4 separate regions of the Homo sapiens genome follow, and all the other regions are linked to region 2. Evidence: promoter capture Hi-C in 16 types of primary human blood cells and fetal thymus (Javierre and others, 2016). All regions are on one chromosome and are shown on one strand. Each heading gives the region's core, a stretch centred on a gene start or on the middle of the fragment in contact. The rest is flanking DNA. Distances are from core to core; before and after follow the strand shown.

Region 1 (4,194 bases), core at 526-3,025, 200 kb before region 2:
GTTGGCAGATTCTGCTTGGCCATTCATTACTCTAGCACATGCCTCACTACCTACTTATAACTTATTAAGGAGGTGAGATGTTGCCTTTCTTGGCTTTCTCAGTTTAAATTTCCCTTTCTGCCTTGAATCTTTCATGCCTCCAGGTCAAAAGAGAGAGACAGAGACAGGGAAAATGACATCATAACCAAATATGGAATTGCTTTAAATTCAGGCTGGTATCTTCTCCCATCATGGCTCTCCTGGGCAGCCGGTTTCCTAATGACCCCAGCTCACTTTCAGAGGGCTCTTACGAATTAGCTCTGTGCTACAAAGTGGGAGACTGACCTCAGTTCTTCCACCACTAACTAGCTTTATGCCCTGAACAAATCACTTTCCCCAACACGGAATAAGCAGGCCTCCTGTTCTTAGCTAGCCCCAGTGTGTTACTACTGAACTATATGATCTTGAGAAAATTCCCTGAACCTGTTTCATCATCTCCACCTTAAGGACATTGGAATAGATGATCTCAAAGGCCCCTCCAGGGTAACTTTCTACAGCTCTATTTAAGCCAGTTTTTCCATTCAGGTAAGTGTGGCCAGATTGACTTTGAAATAATGGTAACTTATTCAAGAAGAACTGGACAGTAAGCACTTGGAGAAATGTGGGTGGAACTCAGTGTGAAAGGAAGAGGAGGGGTCTGGAAATAGATTTTGGGGTGAGATTTGAAATCACGAGAATGAAGGAGCTCCCAAATGGGAAAATGTAAAGAAAAGAGCATAGGGTCAGAGACAGCCTTAGAAGAATAGGAGGTGGGAAGAAAACACTGCAAAAGAAATAAGGCCAACTTCCTGGTGGCTCACACCTGTAACACTTTGAGAGGCCGAGGCAGGCGGATGGCTTTAGCTCAGGAGTTCCAGACCAGCCTGGGCAACATGGCAAGACCCTGTCTCTACAAAAAGTACAAAAATTGCCCAGGTGTGATGGCACGCACCTGTATTCTCAGCTACTTGGGGGGCTGAGGCAGGAGGATGGCTTGAACCCAGTAGGTCAAGGCTGCAGTGAGCTGGGATCATGCCACTGAACTCCAGCCTGGGTGACAGAGGAAGACTCCATCTAAAAAAAGAAAGAAGCCAACCTTAAATGGTTAGCAGCAGATCTTAGGGTAGTTTTCAAAAAAGATGTTTTAAGAAATAGAAGTTATTTTGACGATAGTTCCTAAGAAGGAAGATTTGTTGTTGTTGTTGTTGTCATTGTTGTTGTTTTTTTAAATATAGGGATAAGGTCTCCCTATGTTGCCCAGGCTTCTCTCAAACTGCTCAGTTCAAGTGGTCCTCCCACCGTGACCTCCCAAAGTGCCATGATTCCCGGCGTGAGCCACCACGCCCCGCCCAGAAGGAAGTTTTTATCAACGTGAATAAATGCACCTCCCTTACTTACTGCAGCCCTGGTCCAGACCTTACCCCTCTCCCTAGGCTATGAAGCTTCATGGAGTTATTGATATCCTATCACTATCGATAACAAACTCCGTCTGCTTTTAGAATGTGTTTATCAAGTGCAGTGTAAATGTGAGGAGTCTTTGCCACATGCCACACACCTGGAGCACACCTGGTAAAGGGCGGGTGGGGGCAGCTTCCTCTGTCCCTGCCCTTCTCATTCGTTTCTGCTGCTCCTACTTCTGTCTGCTTCCATCTGCCCTTCACTATCCACCGTCTGCTCCCCTCCCCAGCCTTCTTCCCGGCATGCTCTGCTACCTGGTTGATTTCCAACAGAGACGTGGCAGCTAATATGCCAACAACTATGACACTTAAACTTACACACCCAACTGTCCCCCTTTCAGCTGCCAAAAAGGAATCATTTTTCATTAGCTGGGAAATATTAAAAGCTGCTAGTTAAGTAAAATACTAATTCTGGTGAAATAACCAGTTGCCACTTTATAATATACATCCTTTAAAAAAGTAAAAATAAAAACCTATATTATTTTCTTCCTAACTGCAATGTCAAGAAAATCTGAGATCCAGATGTCTATATTCAAGTGGTACAATATTGGGTTTTATGTGTAAGTATATAATTACATTACATTCGTAATATATTTCACACACATTCTTTAATTACAAAGCTTTAATTAAAATATTTGTCTTTGTATACTAAGGTTAATAGTCCCACGATTTGGAAATGCTAATTTTTTATGATCTCCCATGGTTTTGCTTTTTACTCTGATGTTGTATTAGTCTGTTTTGCGTTGCTATAAAGGAATACCTGAGCTGGGCAATTTATAAAGAAAAAGAGGGTTGTGGCCGGGCGCGGTGGCTAACGCCTGTAATCCCAACACTTTGGGAGGTCGAGGCGGGCAGATCACGAGGTCAGGAGATCGAGACCATCTTGGCTAACATGGTGAAAGCCCGTCTCTACTAAAAATACAAAAAATCAGCCGGGTGTGGTGGCGGGCACCTGTAGTCTCAGCTACTTGGGAGGCTGAGGCAGGAGAATGGTGTGAACCCGGGAGGCGGAGCTTGCAGTGAGCCGAGATTGCGCCACTGCACTCCAGCCTGGGTGACAGAGCGAGACTCCGTCTCAAAAAAAAAAAAAAAAGAAAAGAAAAGAGGGTTGTTTTGGTTTACACTTCTGCAGACTGCAGAAGAAGCATGGTGCCAGTATCTGCTTCTGATGAGGCCTCAGGAAGCTTACAATCATAGCAGAAGGCAAAAGGGAGCAGGCGCGTTACATGGCAAGAGAGGAAGTGAGATACCAGGCTTTTAAACAACTAGCTCTGGCATGAACTAATAGAGTGAGAGCTCACTAATTGCCACCAGGAGAGCACCAAGCCATTCATAAGGGATCCACCCCATGACCCAAACACCTCACACCAGGTTCCACCTTGAACACTGGTGATCACATTTCAACATGGGACTTAGAGGGGACAAACATACCAACTATATCAGATGTCATCAAACATTTCTCAACACTAAAGTATCAGGATGTGAAAACACTATGATTTATTTACCAGTGTTTCATACACATAAAGACCAAAGTGCCAAAATGTTCTTCAGTGAGCTAGTTTTTTATTGTTAAGCTTTGTCCCTCTTTTTTTTTTTTTCCTCGCTGTGTCATCGAGGCTGGAGTGCAGTGCTGCGATCTAGCTCACTGCAACCCCCGCCTCCCAGGTTCAAGCGATTCTTGTGCCTCAGCCTGCCAAGTACCTGGGACTACAGGCATGTGCCACCATGCCCGGCTAATTTTTGATATTTTCAGTAGAGACAGGGTTTCACTGTGTTGCCCAGGCTGGTCTCAAATTCCTGGCCTCAACTGATCCACCCACCTCGGCCTCTCAAAGTGCTGGGATTATAGGCGTGAGCCACTGCACCCAGACAGATTCTGATAGTCTTTACAATGGAGGAACATCTTTCATGAACAGTCTGAATAGAGACCCTATGAAAGTCAGTTTTAAACTAAGTACAGGCACACCTCGGAGATATTGTGGGTCTGGTTCCAGGCCACCGCACAATAAAGTGAATATTATAATAAAGTGAGACACACGAATTTTTTGGTTTCCCAGTGCATATAAAAGTTACGTTTACACTATAATGGTCATCTAATGGTTGTCTATTAAATGAGCAATAGCATTATGTCTTTAAAAATATATACATATCTTAATTTTAAAATACTTTATTGCTAAAAAGTGCTAACAATGATCTGAGCCTTTAGAAGTTGTAATCTTTTTGCTGGTGGAGGGTCTTTTTTTTTTTTTTTTTTTAGATGGAGTCTCACTGTGTAGCCCAGGCTGGAGTGCAATGGCACCATCTCGGCTCACTGCAACCTCCGCCTCCCAGGTTCAAGCGATTCTCCTGCCTCAGCCTCCTGAGTAGCTGGGACTATAGGCACCCGCCACCACACCCAGCTAATTTTTTGTATTTTTAGTAGAGACGGGGTTTCACCGTGTTAGCCAGGATGGTCTCAATCTCCTGACCTCGTGATTCACCCGCCTCGGTTTCCCAAAGTGCTAGGATTACAGGCGTGAGCCACCACATCCGGCCTTAGAGGGTCTTGCCTCAACATTGATGGTGGCTGACTTAGGGTGGTGTTGCTGAAGGCTGGGGTGGCTGTGGCAATTTCTTCAAATAAGACAGCAGTGAAGTTTGCCACATCAGTTGACTCTTCCTTTCACAAAAGATTTCTCTGTAGCATGCAAGCCTGTTTGATAGCATTTACCCACAGTAG
Region 2 (4,703 bases), core at 1-2,500:
TAATCCTGGCCATTTGGGAGGCCGAGGTGGGCGGATCACTTGAGGTCAGGAGTTCGAGACCAGCCTGGCCAACATGGTGAAACCCCATCTCTACTAAAATACAAAAATTAGCTGGGCATTTGTAATCCCAGCTACTCGGGAGGCTGAGGCAGGAGAATCGCTTGAACCCGGGAGGCAGAGGTTGCAGTGAGCCGAGATTGTGCCACTGCACTCCAGCCTGGGCGACAGAGCAAGATTCCTCAAAAAAAAAAAAAAATGGGTTAGAGAAAATAGCCACATAATAGCCTTCAAACCAGTCTCACCTGCAGCTTCGAGGCCAAATCCACAGGAGCCTCTGACAGCTGCTTCACCTGCTGGTAAAAAGTTTCCTGTGCCTCCAAAATCTTCCTCAGATCCTGCTTTGTCTGTTGAGGATACAGAAGACAGAGAAGTTAGCACCAACATCCAGTAGACAGGAGGAGCAACTTTGCTGCACCAAGTGTAACTGGGGTCAGGGCTTGTTCCGGGGATTACTCACAGCCTTGGGATCCCGCACTATAGGTCCAGATTCTGGAAAGTGGTGATTCAGGGCTTTCAGGACTTGGGCCCAAGGCCGGCCCTGCAGGATCAGCTCCACCACCACCTGTACGGTACTGAATTCAGAATCCCCACTTCGGGGCAAGCTGACCTTTTCCAACTAGTCTCATCCCCAAGCTGTGGGCCCTTGTCAGGTGCTCGCATCCCGCCCCTTTCTTTCTTTCCCCTTCCAGGTCCTACTTGCTCCAATACCTTGGCCTTTAGGCCCATACAAAGGCGTTCGTGGTGCCGGTAGCGAACCAAGCCAGGGGCAACAGCGCGCAGAGATCGCAGAAACTCCAGTACTCGCGGAAAATGTTCCACGCAGCGTCCGCGCACAACCTGCCAGCTAGCCGCGGCGGCGAAGCGTAGAGCTGCGGGACCCGCCACCAGGGGCGTAGCCATGGTCGGCGGGCTCCGCCCGGAGGCGGTCCCTCCGGGTTCCTCACCCGGATGGGTGAGGCTTTCCGATCACTCCTAGGGGCGGGGCTTCTGGCAACTCCCTGTCGCTCCGGTCTGTCGGCTCTGGGTACCTCGCGATCTGACTCGGCTCCCTTCCATCGGCCCCCAGAATTCTGGGGGAGGGGGTCTTCTGGCTCGGGCTGGAGGAGCCTGAGTGGAGAAGCTGACCGTCTCCAGTGGCACTGGGTCGCTCAGCTTTAAACGTCGCCGCTGTCTCGAGCCCGAGGGTGCCTCACTTCCGGCTCCGCTACTAGCTTCCCTTGCCCCGGAAAAGGGCGGTAAGAGGGAGCCAATGGGCGGCCACAGAGGGAACCGTGACGGTGCGTCAGAAGGCCACGCCCCAGCGGAGCTGTAGCTGCCCGCTTCCTGCACTCTCTGCCGGCTGACATGAGTTGGCGGCTGAGGCTGTCGTGGCCGCTGAGGCTGTTGTGGCCGTTCGTCTGGGTCCTCCCAGCCTTGCTTTCTTCGCGGAGCCTGCGGAGAAGCCCCGTCACTCCCGTGAGGCTCGACTTCCTAGTCTGTAAAACGAGGATCATGCCACCGCCCTTTCCCACTGTCTTCACCCATCGAAATTTAGTTCTTTAAATTCCAGACCCGAGCCGGCGTCTACAAAGCCTTCCCCTCTGCGCGCGTCGCTTCCAGTAGGAATTCGACTGTTCCTTTTATAAAACAGAAGAGGGCGCCCGCCCTTAAAAAATAAAATACAGGCTGGGCGTGGTGGCTTGTGTCTAATCCCAGCGCTTTGAGAGGCCGAGGCAGGAGGGTCACTTGAGCCCAGGAGCTCCAGACAAGCCTGGGCGACATGGTGAAACCCCTTCTCTGCTAAAAGTACAAAAATTAGCTGGGCGTGGTGGCAGGCGCCTGTAATCCCAGCTACTCGGGAGGCCGAGGCAGGAGAATCGCTTGAACCCAGTAGACGGGAGGTGGCAGTGAGCCGCGATCTTGCCTCTGCATTCCAGCCTGGGCGACAGAGGGAGAATCTCTCTCAAAGAAAAAAAAAAAAAAAAAAAGAGGAAGAAGAAGAAATAGAATACAGGCTGGGGGCACGGTGACTCACACCTGTAATCCCAGCACTCTGAGAGGCCGAGAGGGGAGGATCGATCCGCTTGAGCCCAGGAGTTCCAGACCAGACTGGATCACATGGCGATAACCTGTCTCTACTGAAAATCAAAAAAACTAGCCGGGCGTAGTGGCACGCCTGTAGTCCCAGCTACTCAGGAGGCTGAGTTGGGAGGATTGTTTGAGCCAGGGAGGTTGAGGCTTCAGTGACTGCACTCCAGCCTGAGTGATAGAGTGAGACGGGGTCTCACACACACACACAAATTAGTTTCTTGTTTTAGGATTCTGTTGTGCACTGAACTTGTCAGCCCCCTAATGTAATTGACTGCTCTCCTTGACTGTCTCTTCCACAGGCTTCCTGGTGCCTCTCATTTCCATCAGCAAGCACAGAACCTAACACACAGCTTACACTCCTTAATTGTTGGCTGGATTAGTTGCCTGCCTTGACCACCTTACAAGGATTTAGTGAAACTGCTCCGTCTTTAGCCCATGTCTTCCATTCCCAGAGATAATGGTTCACACATCCTTGTCTCCGCCCCGGATCAGTCTCAGCTGATCCGCACATTCGACTGCCCAAGAAACACCCAGTCCCAAAGTACCCCAAATTGGATATGTGTGAAATTCTAGTTATCTTCCTTTTTCCCTTTATTTATTCCTTCTCTAATGTTCTTTCTTTCTTATGTAGATATGAACTTCTGTTGTTTTACTTTTTTTTTTTTTTGAGACGGAGTCTCGCTCTGTCGCCCAGGCTGAAGTGCAGTGGCGCGATCTCAGCTCACTGCAAGCTCCGCCTCCTGGGTTCACGCCATTCTCCTGCCTCAGCCTCCCGAGTAGCTGGGACTACAGGCGCCCACCACCGCGCCCGGCTTTTTTGTATTTTTAGTAGAGACGGGGTTTCACCGTGGTCTGGATCTCCTGACCTCGTGATCCGCTCGCCTCGGCCTCCCAAAGTGCTGGGATTACAAGGCGTGAGCCACCGCGCTCGGCTCTTTTTTTTTTTTTGAGGTGGGGAGACAGTCTCGCTCTGTTGCTCAGGGTGGAGTGCAGTGATCTTGGCTCACTGCAACCTCTGCCTCCTGGGCTTAAGTGATCCTCCTGCCTCAGCCTCCAAAGTAACTGGGGCTACAGGCATGCACCACCATGCCTGGCTCATTTTTTTCTATTTTTTGTAGAGACAAGTCTTTGTTGCCCAGGCTGGTCTCGAATTCCTGGACTCAAGCGATCTTCCCACCTCGGCTTCCGAAAGTGTTGGGATCGCAGGCGTGAGCCACTGCACGCAGTCCCTGGCTAATTTTTTAAAAAATCTTTTTTGGTGGGTGTGGTGGCTCATGCCTGTAATCCCAGAACTTTGGGAGGCTGAAGTGGGAGGATCACTTGAGGCCAGGAGTTTGAGACCAGCCTGGGCAATACAGTGAGACCCTGACTCTACAAAAAAAAAAAAAAAGAAAAATATGTTTTGTAGAGAAGGGGTGTCTCTCTGTGTTGCCCAGCCCAGTCTATCTTCATTTTTTGTTTTTTGTATTTATCCTGCTTGCTGCTCTCTGAGCTTCCTGGATCTGTGTTTTGTGTCTGTCATTAATTTGGGGGAAATTCTCAGTCATTATTGCCACATTTCTTATGTTCCTTTATTTTCTTCTCTGCCATTCTGATTATGTGTATGCTACAGCTTCTATAATTGTCCTACAATTCTTGGATATTCTGTTCTTTTTCATTTTTTTTTCTCATTGCATTTCAGCTTTGGAAATTTCTGTTGACATTTCTTCAAGCGCACCATGTTCTTTGGCCATGTCCAGTCTATTGATGAGCCCATCACAGACATTCATCATTTCTGTTACAGTGGGTTTTTTTTGTTTTTTGAGACAATGTCTTGCTTTGTTGCTCAGGCTGGAATGCAGTGGCTCAATATCAGCTCACTGCAACCTGTGTCTCCCAAGTTCAAGCGATTCTGGTGCCTCAGCCTCCCAAGTAGGTGGTACTACAGGTCGTACACCACCACGCCCGGCTAATTTTTGTTTTAGTAGAGATGGGGTTTTGCCATGTTGCCCAGGCTGGTCTCGAACTCCTGACCTCAAGCGATCCACCTGCCTTGGCCTCCCAAAGTGCTAGGATTACAGGCGTGAGCCACCGTGCCCAGCTGAATTACTCATTTTCAGCTGCTATCTCTGTGTAGCTGACTTCTTGGGAGTCCGAGGCAGGTGGATTGCTTGAGCCCAGGAGTTTGAGACCAACCTGGGCAAAATGGCGAGACCCCCGTCTCTACAAAAAAAATTGAAAAACTAGCCAGGCATAGATGTGCACACCTGTAGCCCCAGTTACTCAGGAGGCTGATGTGGAAAGATTGCCTGAGCCCAGGAGGTTGAGGTTGCAGTGAGCTGTAATCCAGCCTGGTTGCAATGAATTGCACTCCAGCCTGGGCAACAGAGTGAGAACAGAATGCAATGGATGTATTTCAAAGTGGCTACTTTCCTCCTCCCCTTTGCCAGAATCACGGGGCAGGGGGTTCTCCAGTTTTCACTGTGGGATCCTGGTAAAACTTGTGGCCATGTGCCATGGCTCACACCTAGGATTGCTTGAGGCTAGGAGTTCAAGACCAGTCTGGGCAACATAGTGAGACCATGTCTGTACAA
Region 3 (4,644 bases), core at 1,839-4,338, 130 kb before region 2:
CATTATGAACTCATGGATTTAAACATACTTAGTGTTTATTAAATTGACCTTATTAAATGTTCAAATTGTCCCACATTTGGCTATGGAAGCTAGGCCAAAAAGAGCTGAGTCCTTTTGACATGATACATACTCCTTGCTTCCCGGCTATCTGGTATAAGTTGCTCCATGCTCATTGTGTTCATTTCCTTCCCCAAACCTGGAATCAGCTTTTTCTCTAAGAAGCTCTGGCTTCTTTCAGGGGGAAATGGCGTTTTAAGACCACAATCTGGATGCTAGGAGTGTTCATTGATACTGGATTGGTCATTGTTTCTAGATCTTTTTGGTGGATAGCGACAGAAGATAAAACCTCATGAACTCATACTGACATGTTCTATTCAAAATCAGGGCTAAAGGGTTTTCTGGAAACATGGTCTTGCTTTGTTGCCCAGGCTGTAATGCAGTAGCGTGATCACAGCTCACTGCAGCCTTGAATTCCTGGGCTCAAATGATCCTCTTGCCTCAGCCTCCCGAGTAGCTACAGGTGTAAGCCACCACACCTGGCTAATTTTTTTTTTTTTTTTAGAGATGGGGTCTCACTATGTTGCCCAGGCTGGTCTTGAACTCCTGGTTTCAAGCAATCCACCTGCCTCAGCCTCTCAAAGTGCTGGGATTACAGGTGTGAGCCACTACCCCGGGCCACTAAAGGGTATTTACTTATATTACATCTATAGCTCCTACCCTACACACAGAAAAATCTGATTCTTACAGACACAAGACATGAGAGTATTAGAACATCCCATAGTTACTTAGTGGCTTTCTAGTCAACACATTTTAAGTCCCTAGGTAAATTATTAGCACACTCTCCATTTCCATCGACACAGAGAATACTATAAGGCAATGTTCAAACACATGTATGAGCATCAGTCACTCCAAACACGGAACTGTCCCAGGAGCTCTGTGTGGTCACCAAGCTGGGAGCTGCAGTAGAGGAGAGGAGGACAGGGTTAGCTAGAGAATGAAAACACTCCTTTCCTTCTCTCCTCAGCAGCCCAGCCTGCCCTCTAGTGGAGATGCTAATGAGCAGGAAACAGGCCAAGACAGGTCAGGCAGGAAGTCAACTAGCTGACATTTACTTAGCAATTACCAGAAATTGTCCTAAAATGGGTGCTGAAGGTAGAAAAACCTCTCTGTGGCTTTAAGTGACTTTAAGTGCAACTGGAGAGAGTAGAGGTTACCCAAATGAAAAGTGCTTCACAAACTGTAACCACGCAACGTACCAAATTTCAAAATCAAGACAGCATAGGCAAAATTTAGTCTATCAAAATGACTTCACCATAATTATTTTTAAAGATATGCCATTTTATTTATTTCAATAGACACACTGTATACCCTAAGATATAAATGCTCTTACACATTTTGAAAAACATTACAGGTCATAGTGAGATAATCAAGTTCATAGGCTTAAAAATCTTTTATATGCTGCCAGGCGTGGTGGCTCACACCTGTAATCCCAGCACTTTGGGAGGCCTAGGTGGTCAGATCATGAGGTCAGGAGATCGAGACCATCCTGGCTAACATGGTGAAACCCCGTCTCTACTAAGAAAAATACAAAAAATTAGCCGGGCATGGTGGCGGGCGCCTGTAGTCCCAGGTACTCGGGAGGCTGAGGCAGGAGAATAGCATGAACCCGGGAGGCGGAGCTTGCAGTGAGCCGAGATCGGTCCACTGCACTCCAGCCTGGGTGACAGAGCAAGACTCCATCTCAAAAAAAAAAAAAAAAAATCTTTTATACGCAAAAAAATTAATCAATGAATCCAGTGATTAATCTTATATTCTTTCCCATGTGATGTGAAGGACTCAATTTTGTCATAAAACCTCAGTTATTTTAACATTTACCATGACTTTTAAATGTTTTACTCAATAATGTACAAGTTCCATATTACAAAAGCTTGAATTAAAAGATTTTATTCAGGTTTAAACTAATTTGTAAGAAGAAGAGAAAAGAGAATCAAAAAATGAATTGTTAAGGAGATAAGTTTAACAGAAGTTTTTTGTTCGTTTTTCTGGACCTCAGGTGCTATAGCTGTATTCATCATAATCCTTTGTAGAAGCTACACCTTTGTCACCAGTTCATGCAAGCCCTCCCCACTTTGTTTAATGATGTAATGAGCTGGGTATTATTATACTTTTTTTTTTTTTCTTTGAGACGGGGTCTCATTCTCGCCCAGGCTGGATGAAGTGCAGTGGCGCAATCATGGCTCACTGCAGCCTTGACCAGACTCAGGTGATCCTTCCACCTCAGCATCCTGGGTAGCCAAGACTACAGGCCCAGCTCAATTTTGTTTTTGTATTTTTCGTAGAGATGGGGTTTCGTCACATTGCCCAGGCTGATCTCAAATTCCTGTGGTCAAGCGAGCTGCCCGCCTCAGCCTCTCAAAGTACTGGGATTACAGGTGTGAGCTACCACGCCTATTATACTTTCTAATGAAAAAATGAAACCACATCGTTTTTGCATCTATTACATGTCACCAGAAGAAATGATTATCTTTATTTTTTTAACTTGACAATGTAGTTTGCACAATTTCCTATGGTATAAAAATAGAAGGCTACAACAAACCTATACCAGGAATAGGTACCTTAAAAAAAAATTGAAGACTACAACACCATTTTAATAGCTACCTGGTATTTCTGTGTCTATACTACATGGACCATAATTTATTTAACAATCCCATATTGCAAGATATTTAGATCTTTGTTTCCAGTGTTCCACTTTTATCAATAATTGCTATGTAGAACATAAATTTTTATGCATGTCCGGCCTAGATTTCTGGAAGCAGTATTACTGGGTCAAAGTGCAAGGCTGTGAGGAAGGGAGTTTTGTAGACAGCTTCCCTCTAATAAGAAATTCTCCTGGGAAGGTGCAGAGGTAAAAATAAACAAGCTATTTATTGGCATATTTGCTTAGCAGAAATATCAAAAAATGAGGTTACTAAAAATAGACATCCAGGTTTGGAAGTTTGTATTTGAAACAATGAACAATAGTGAGCCATTTGTTGATTTTCTTTTAGAGACAGTCTTTAGCTCTATCCCCAGGCTGGAGTACAGTGGAGCAATCATGGCTCACTGCAGCCTCCACCTCATAGGCTCAAGATTCCCTCCTTCATCCTTCCCAAGTAAGTTGGGACCATAGGCACGCGCCACGATGGCCGGCTATTTTTTTTTTCTTTTTGTAGACTGGGTCTCACTATGTTGCCCAGGCTGGCCTTGAACTCCTGGCCACAAATGATCCTCCTCCTCGGCCTCCCACAGTGCTGGAATTACAGTCGTAAGCCACCGTGCCCAGCTCACTTGTGCGTTAAGCACTAAATGCTGTTAGAGGAGGATTCTTCAGCAGATCAACTACCGGAAGAGGCATAGGTGTTTTTTGTTTGGTTGGTTGATTGTTTTTTGTGTGTGTGTGACGGAGTTTCGCTTTTGTAGCCCAGGCTGGAGTGCAGTGGCGTGATCTCGGCTCAATGCAACCTCCACCTCCCGGGTTCAAGCGATTCTCTTGCCTCAGCCTCTCGAGTGGCTGGGATTACAAGCGCATGCCACCACACTCGGCTTTTTTTTTTTTAGTGACGGGGTTTCACCATGTTGGCCAGGCTGGTCTCGAACTCCTGACCTCAGGTGATCCACCCGCCTTGGCCTCCCAAAGTGCTGGGATTACAGGCGTGAGCCACCGCGCCCGGCCAATTTTTTTAAAAAATGATTCCGTCCTGAGACTTTGCTGAAGTTGCTTATCAGCTTAAGGAGATTTTGGGCTGAGACGATGGGGTTTTCTAGATAAACAATCATGTCGTCTGCAAACAGGGACAATTTGACTTCCTCTTTTCCTAATTGAATACCCTTTATTTCCTTCTCCTGCCTGATTGCCCTGGCCAGAACTTCCAACACTATGTTGAATAGGAGCGGTGAGAGAGGGCATCCCTGTCTTGTGCCAGTTTTCAAAGGGAATGCTTCCAGTTTTTGCCCATTCAGTATGATATTGGCTGTGGGTTTGTCATAGATAGCTCTTATTATTTTGAAATACGTCCCATCAATACCTAATTTATTGAGAGTTTTTAGCATGAAGGGTTGTTGAATTTTGTCAAAGGCTTTTTCTGCATCTATTGAGATAATCATGTGGTTTTTGTCTTTGGCTCTGTTTATATGCTGGATTACATTTATTGATTTGCGTATATTGAACCAGCCTTGCATCCCAGGGATGAAGCCCACTTGATCATGGTCGATAAGCTTTTTGATGTGCTGCTGGATTCGGTTTGCCAGTATTTTATTGAGGATTTTTGCATCAATGTTCATCAAGGATATTGGTCTAAAATTCTCTTTTTTGGTTGTGTCTCTGCCCGGCTTTGGTATCAGAATGATGCTGGCCTCATAAAATGAGTTAGGGAGGATGACAAATGGGATCTAATTAAACTAAAGAGCTTCTGCACAGCAAAAGAAACTACCATCAGAGTGAACAGGCAACCTACAACATGGGAGAAAATTTTCGCAACCTACTCATCTGACAAAGGGCTAATATCCAGAATCTACAATGAACTCAAACAAATTTACAAGAAAAAAACAAACAACCCCATCAAAAAGTGGGCGAAGGACATGAACAGACACTTCTCAAAAGCAGAC
Region 4 (4,727 bases), core at 200-2,699, 160 kb after region 2:
TGTTACCTCTCTGAGGATAGAAATGATAGTAAGCTTTTTGAAGTTTTCTTCTCCCCCCTAGTTTCTCTTCTTTCAGGTTGCTTTTTTGTTTTCCTGTATGGTTTGTCCTCTGTGTTTCACATTAGAAGTTTTCCTCACAAGCCTGATAATCCTTGCATGATAAAGAGTGAAGGACAAAAAGCTGATTGGGAGTGGAGGCTGTGGGCAAGACTTGTTGGTTTTGAGCTTGATTGTACAGAGATTTGCAGGTGCTGTTGGTTAGGGACCCCGTTTTGTGATCTTTAAGTCTCTGCTCTTGGGCTGGCCAGGTTTTCCAGAATGTATGCCTGCTTCCCTGGCCTGGAGGGTCAGGGTCTGGCTGCCAAGCAAATCTCTGAGTGGGAAGAATGAGTTTCTCTGCGTTTAGCTTGCATTGTATACATCATTCTTTGGCCCTCCTCACTCCCTCCATGTTTTTTTGTGTGGTGCTCACACCTTCGATTATGCTGATCAACCTCGACTCCTAAGACCTTGTTTTGTACTCCCTGGAGAACAGCCCTCCAGTGAGCGGGAAGCTACTTGCCAAGCCTGTGTGTGTGTGTGTGTGTGTGTGTGTGTGTGTGAGAGAATGTGTGTGTGTGAATGTGTGTGAATGTGTGTGAATGTGTGTGTGTGTGTGTATGTGTGTTGGGAGTGGTTGGGCTCCCAGATCTAACTGCTCCTCAAAGAACCTGGTTTTTCATGTTCCCCTTCACTTCCAATTCCAGAGTTTCTTGTTGTTGTTTTCTGAGCCTTTTGAGTATCCTGCAGTGTAAATTGGGGTGGTTCTGGAAAGTAGACAATGAATGATAACTGACTTATGAGAAAGGAGAACCCTAAGTTAGGTGTTAAGTAATAAAGCACCTTGACAAGTACAGAATAATATTAAAATATGTCATATAAATGCTTTTATTTAACTTACAAGTTGACTAACGACCTGTGGGTATTGGACAATATATTCTTACAAATACAGTGCTCTTTTTCTGTGTCCTTTTCTATTCTTCTGTATCATCTTTCTACCTAGTTGTTAGTTGTTCCTGCCTCTTCTTCTCTACTTTTTCTCCTCTTGGAGGAAGAAGGTCTGGGTTGGCTTTAGGCAGGAAAGCTGTTCAGGTATTTTCAGGCTGTAAATGCCTGTTGTTTCCTTATCTTCTCTCCCTCTACAGTATAGACGGCATCATGGTGAAGACCCCCGACTGTGGAGCTAGAGTGCCTGAGTATCCCAGCCTACTAACTGTGTGATCTTGGACATATGGCCTTCCTTGCTCATCTAAAATGGGGATAATAGTATTTCCTTAAAGGGCAGAGAGAGGAATAAATAAGATAATGTGTGCAAAGTGCCTGACACATAATAAGCTCTCACTAAATATTAGTTCATATTTATTATTTTAAAAATTATCACAGTTCCTATATATTTCTTAATTTTAAAATATCGGGCCGGGCACGGTGGCTCATACCTGTAATCCCAGCACTTTAGGAGTCTGAGGCGGGTGGATCGCGTGAGGTCAAGAGTTCGAGACCAGCCTGACCAACACGGCAAAACCCCATCTCTACTAAAAATACAAAAATTAGCCGGGCATGGTGGTGCACATCTGTAATCCCAGCTACTGGGGAGGCTAAGGCAGGAGAATTTCTTGAACCTAGGAGGCGGAGGCTGCCGTGAGCTGAGATCACTCCAGTGGAAAAATTCTGGTATCAGAGCCTCTAGCTGTGCCACTGTACTCCAGCCTGGGTGACAGAGTGAGACTCTGCCTCAAAAAATAAAATAAAATAAAATAAAATAAAATAAAATAAAATAAAATAAAATATTGGACAGTTGATGGAACCATAAATATTCTAAGCTCTCTGCAGAAAGAGAAAGAAGCCACCCATAATCTTCTTCCCCAGCACATCTCTCCATTTTTCATGTTGTTTTCCGGTCATTGAAATGGGGGTGCCTGGGGTGGGGGAATATTTGTTAAGGTCTGAGACAGCCCACACCTGCTCAGATTTAACCTTGCTAGGCAGTGGGACCAGATGAGGTTGGGGTAGGAGGGGTTGGCTTGGGATGTCCATCAGGTTTTGAGCTGGTTTTGAACTGATTGAAAAGGGGTTAGACATGTATTTCAGGCTCTGAGGAAGAAGTTGCAGGTCTGTGGCCTCGGCCAGGTGGAAGAGGGACACGTAGGCCTGAGCCGGGAAAGATGGCCCGGGGACTGAGCAGAGGCACCTGGGTGGTCTTCAGGATCGCTGCTGGAGATCCAAAATGGAGTATGGGACTGCCAGGGGAAAGCAGGAAGAGGGATGAGAGGGATGACTATCAAAGAAAGGGGATGTGGAGGGGCATGGGGGCATATGAAGTCCACATGGGGTGGCTGATTGGAGCGAGAGCTCATGGGACCGCACAGATGGAACTCAGCCAGAGTGGAGAAACCCCAACCTCGCCCACCCCAGCCACTGCTAAAGATGGCAAGTGTGTGCCCTGTGAGCTCTGTGAACTCTAGGACTTGGTCTGCCCAGAAAGCCAGAGTTCTTCCTTCTCTTTAGCTATTGTGTGTATGTGCGGGTGCAGGGGTTCCCCTGGACACTGGCCCAGTGGCTTATCTCCTGCTCTGTTGCCTCTGGGCAACAGAGTTACTATGATTAGGGGTACAGGTTGTGCTAGAGGCATTCTGGAGGGGGATGAAGCTCGAGTCTCACATGATTACCCTGTAGTCACTGTGGTCTGCCAGAGGAGGTGGAAAAATTTCTAGTATCAGAGCCTCTAGCTGTGTGCCCTTGGGCAAGCTGCATAGCTCTTCTCAGCCTGCAAAATGGGAACAGGCTGTGCCAGGTGTCATCCTCAGTACTTTCTGCGTATTAATTCACTGAAGCTTCAGAGTGGCCCAATGAGGCAGGAACTATTACTGTTCCCATTTTACAGAGGAGGAACTGCAGGCACGGGGGCAGGCGTGTTGTGTGATTAATAACTTGCCACAGGTTGCATAGTTCCTAGCTTATGGAGGGTGCCCAGTAGTGTGCAGCCACTTTCTCCCCAGCTGTCACACAATTCAGGAATGCCAGACTGGGACTAGACCTCAGGAGCATCCAGTTTAACCTTTCTTTTTCTTGGTGAAGAGACTGCGGTGCTGAGAAGGTGATAGATGCCCCACAATTAACCTAATCAGTTGAGGTCGAGTTGGAGCTGCAACCTGGGTTCTTTCCCTCCTCTCTCCCAGGCTTCCCTGTTCTGTTGGTGTTCCCTGGAAAGAAATGGGTGTGTGAGGGTGCAGGACCAGGGAGAGAGTGGCTGGCCATGGGGGAGTCATTTGGCTCATGGTGGATGGGGGGTGGTAGTGGTGGGGCCACATGGTTAGTGAGGGGCTGGCCTTTTGGGTGGCGAGGGCAGATCCAGGGGCAGGCCCCCAACGGGCTGACTTCATTGTGTTCTCCCCATTGTGCCCAGGAATACCTGAAGGGCCTGTGCAGCCCAGAGCTGTGGAAAGAGGTTCGCTACCCACCGATCCTGCACTGTGCCTTCCTTGGGGCCCAAGGCCTCTTCCTGGACTGCCTCTGCTGGAGCACCCTTGCCTACCTGGTGCCTGGCCCCCCTGGCTCCCTGATGGTGGGCGGGCTGACTGAGTCTTTCATCATGACACAGAACTGGCTGGAGGAGCTGGTGGGGCGACTGCGCTGGGGCCCTGCCCCTCTGCTGACCCCCCGGGGGATCTGGGAGGCTGAGGTGACCCGGGCCTTTGGGGCCCTGGTCTGGATCCGTGGTGACCAGCATGCAGGGGACCTACTGCAGCTGCCCCCAGCGGTCCAGGAGCTGCTGCTGAGCCTGGTGCGGGATGCTGCGGGCAAGGAAGACATCATCGAGTGGCTCAGCCGCTTCGGCATCTCTGACTCCCACTCCGATCCGGAGGTTCTAATCTGCCCTCCCCAGCAGCAGAAGGAAGCCCCAGCCATGGTGTCCGTGGGAGAGAGTCCTGGACCCTTTGTGGACATGGGGACCCTCCAGAACAGGGGCCCAGAAAATTCAAAGAGATTATCTAGCCTGGGAGCCACTGGGTCCCTGATCACAGCCCAGAGCACACCGCAGGAGGCAGCAAACCAGCTGGTACGGTAAGTTCTGGAGAATGAGCCTGGCTTCTCTGATCCTACCCCTGCTCCCCTACCCTAAGGAAATAGTAATAGTTTGGGACCAAACTGGCCTTCCACCTTTTCAATGAACTTGGGCTTCCTCCAGGGTCGGTTCCAACAACCAAGATGGTATGGACAGTGCTCAAGAGGAAGGGACAGTGCAAGCCACCAGCAGCCAGGACTCCACGAACCACACACAAGCCTTGTTGAAGCAAAGGCAGGTCCAGAAGATAGAAGATAAACTCCTCTTCCAACCTCCAGTATCAGCCCTGGGTGTGTGCCCACCCTGGAAGGCCTGGACCCCGGGGCCAGCCTTTGGGCCATTGTGGCCGGGGGCTATTGCTGCAACCTTCTGGAGGATCAATGAGCTGCATTCTCTACATCTGGCCTGGCTCCTGTCCCAGGCGTGCTTCAATTTCCCCTTCTGGCAGAGACCTCTGGGCCCCATTCAGTTGAAGCTGCCAGGGCAGAATCCTTTGCCCTTAAATCTGGAGTGGAAGCAGAAGGAGCTGGCTCCTCTGCCTAGTGCAGAAAGCCCAGCTGGTAGACCAGATGGGGGGCTGGGAGGAGAAGCAGCCCTGCAGAATTGCCCAAGGCCAGAGATTTCC

Evidence for each region. The method cuts DNA at HindIII sites, captures the fragments that hold promoters and counts their contacts. A CHiCAGO score of 5 or more calls a contact.
Region 1: a fragment that was not itself captured here is called in contact with the fragment with the promoter of TINF2 in region 2 in 3 of 17 cell types (activated CD4 T cells, total B cells and M0 macrophages); the score reaches 5.7 in activated CD4 T cells.
Region 3: a fragment that was not itself captured here is called in contact with the fragment with the promoter of TINF2 in region 2 in 13 of 17 cell types (activated CD4 T cells, naive B cells, naive CD8 T cells and 10 more); the score reaches 12.2 in activated CD4 T cells.
Region 4: a contact is called between a fragment that was not itself captured here and the fragment with the promoter of TINF2 in region 2, in 1 of 17 cell types (naive CD4 T cells). The highest score is 5.3, in naive CD4 T cells.

What each region holds. Positions count from the first base shown.
Region 1 is chr14:24,041,237-24,045,430 of GRCh38, forward strand. It overlaps the pseudogene DHRS4L1. Among named protein-coding and RNA genes, the nearest start is that of CARMIL3, 8.7 kb to the right of the region's middle. The HindIII fragment of the contact is 635 bases long and covers 1,459-2,093 here.
Region 2 is chr14:24,241,373-24,246,075 of GRCh38, forward strand. TINF2 (TERF1 interacting nuclear factor 2) reads right to left here and starts at 1,251. Exons shown (of 9, transcript NM_001099274.3): 1 at 769-1,251; 2 at 518-622; 3 at 303-404. The coding sequence starts at 960. RefSeq lists enhancers at 1-19, 680-899, 970-1,229, 1,400-1,699 and a silencer at 1,891-2,185. The HindIII fragment of the contact is 13,864 bases long and covers 1-4,703 here.
Region 3 is chr14:24,107,955-24,112,598 of GRCh38, forward strand. All of the region lies in intron 1 of NRL (neural retina leucine zipper), which reads right to left. Among named protein-coding and RNA genes, the nearest start is that of DCAF11, 4.5 kb to the right of the region's middle. RefSeq lists an enhancer at 826-1,120. The HindIII fragment of the contact is 2,327 bases long and covers 1,926-4,252 here.
Region 4 is chr14:24,404,427-24,409,153 of GRCh38, forward strand. It overlaps NYNRIN (NYN domain and retroviral integrase containing), which reads left to right. Exons shown (of 9, transcript NM_025081.3): 3 at 3,443-4,101; 4 at 4,226-4,727. Among named protein-coding and RNA genes, the nearest start is that of NYNRIN, 7.8 kb to the left of the region's middle. The HindIII fragment of the contact is 2,837 bases long and covers 32-2,868 here.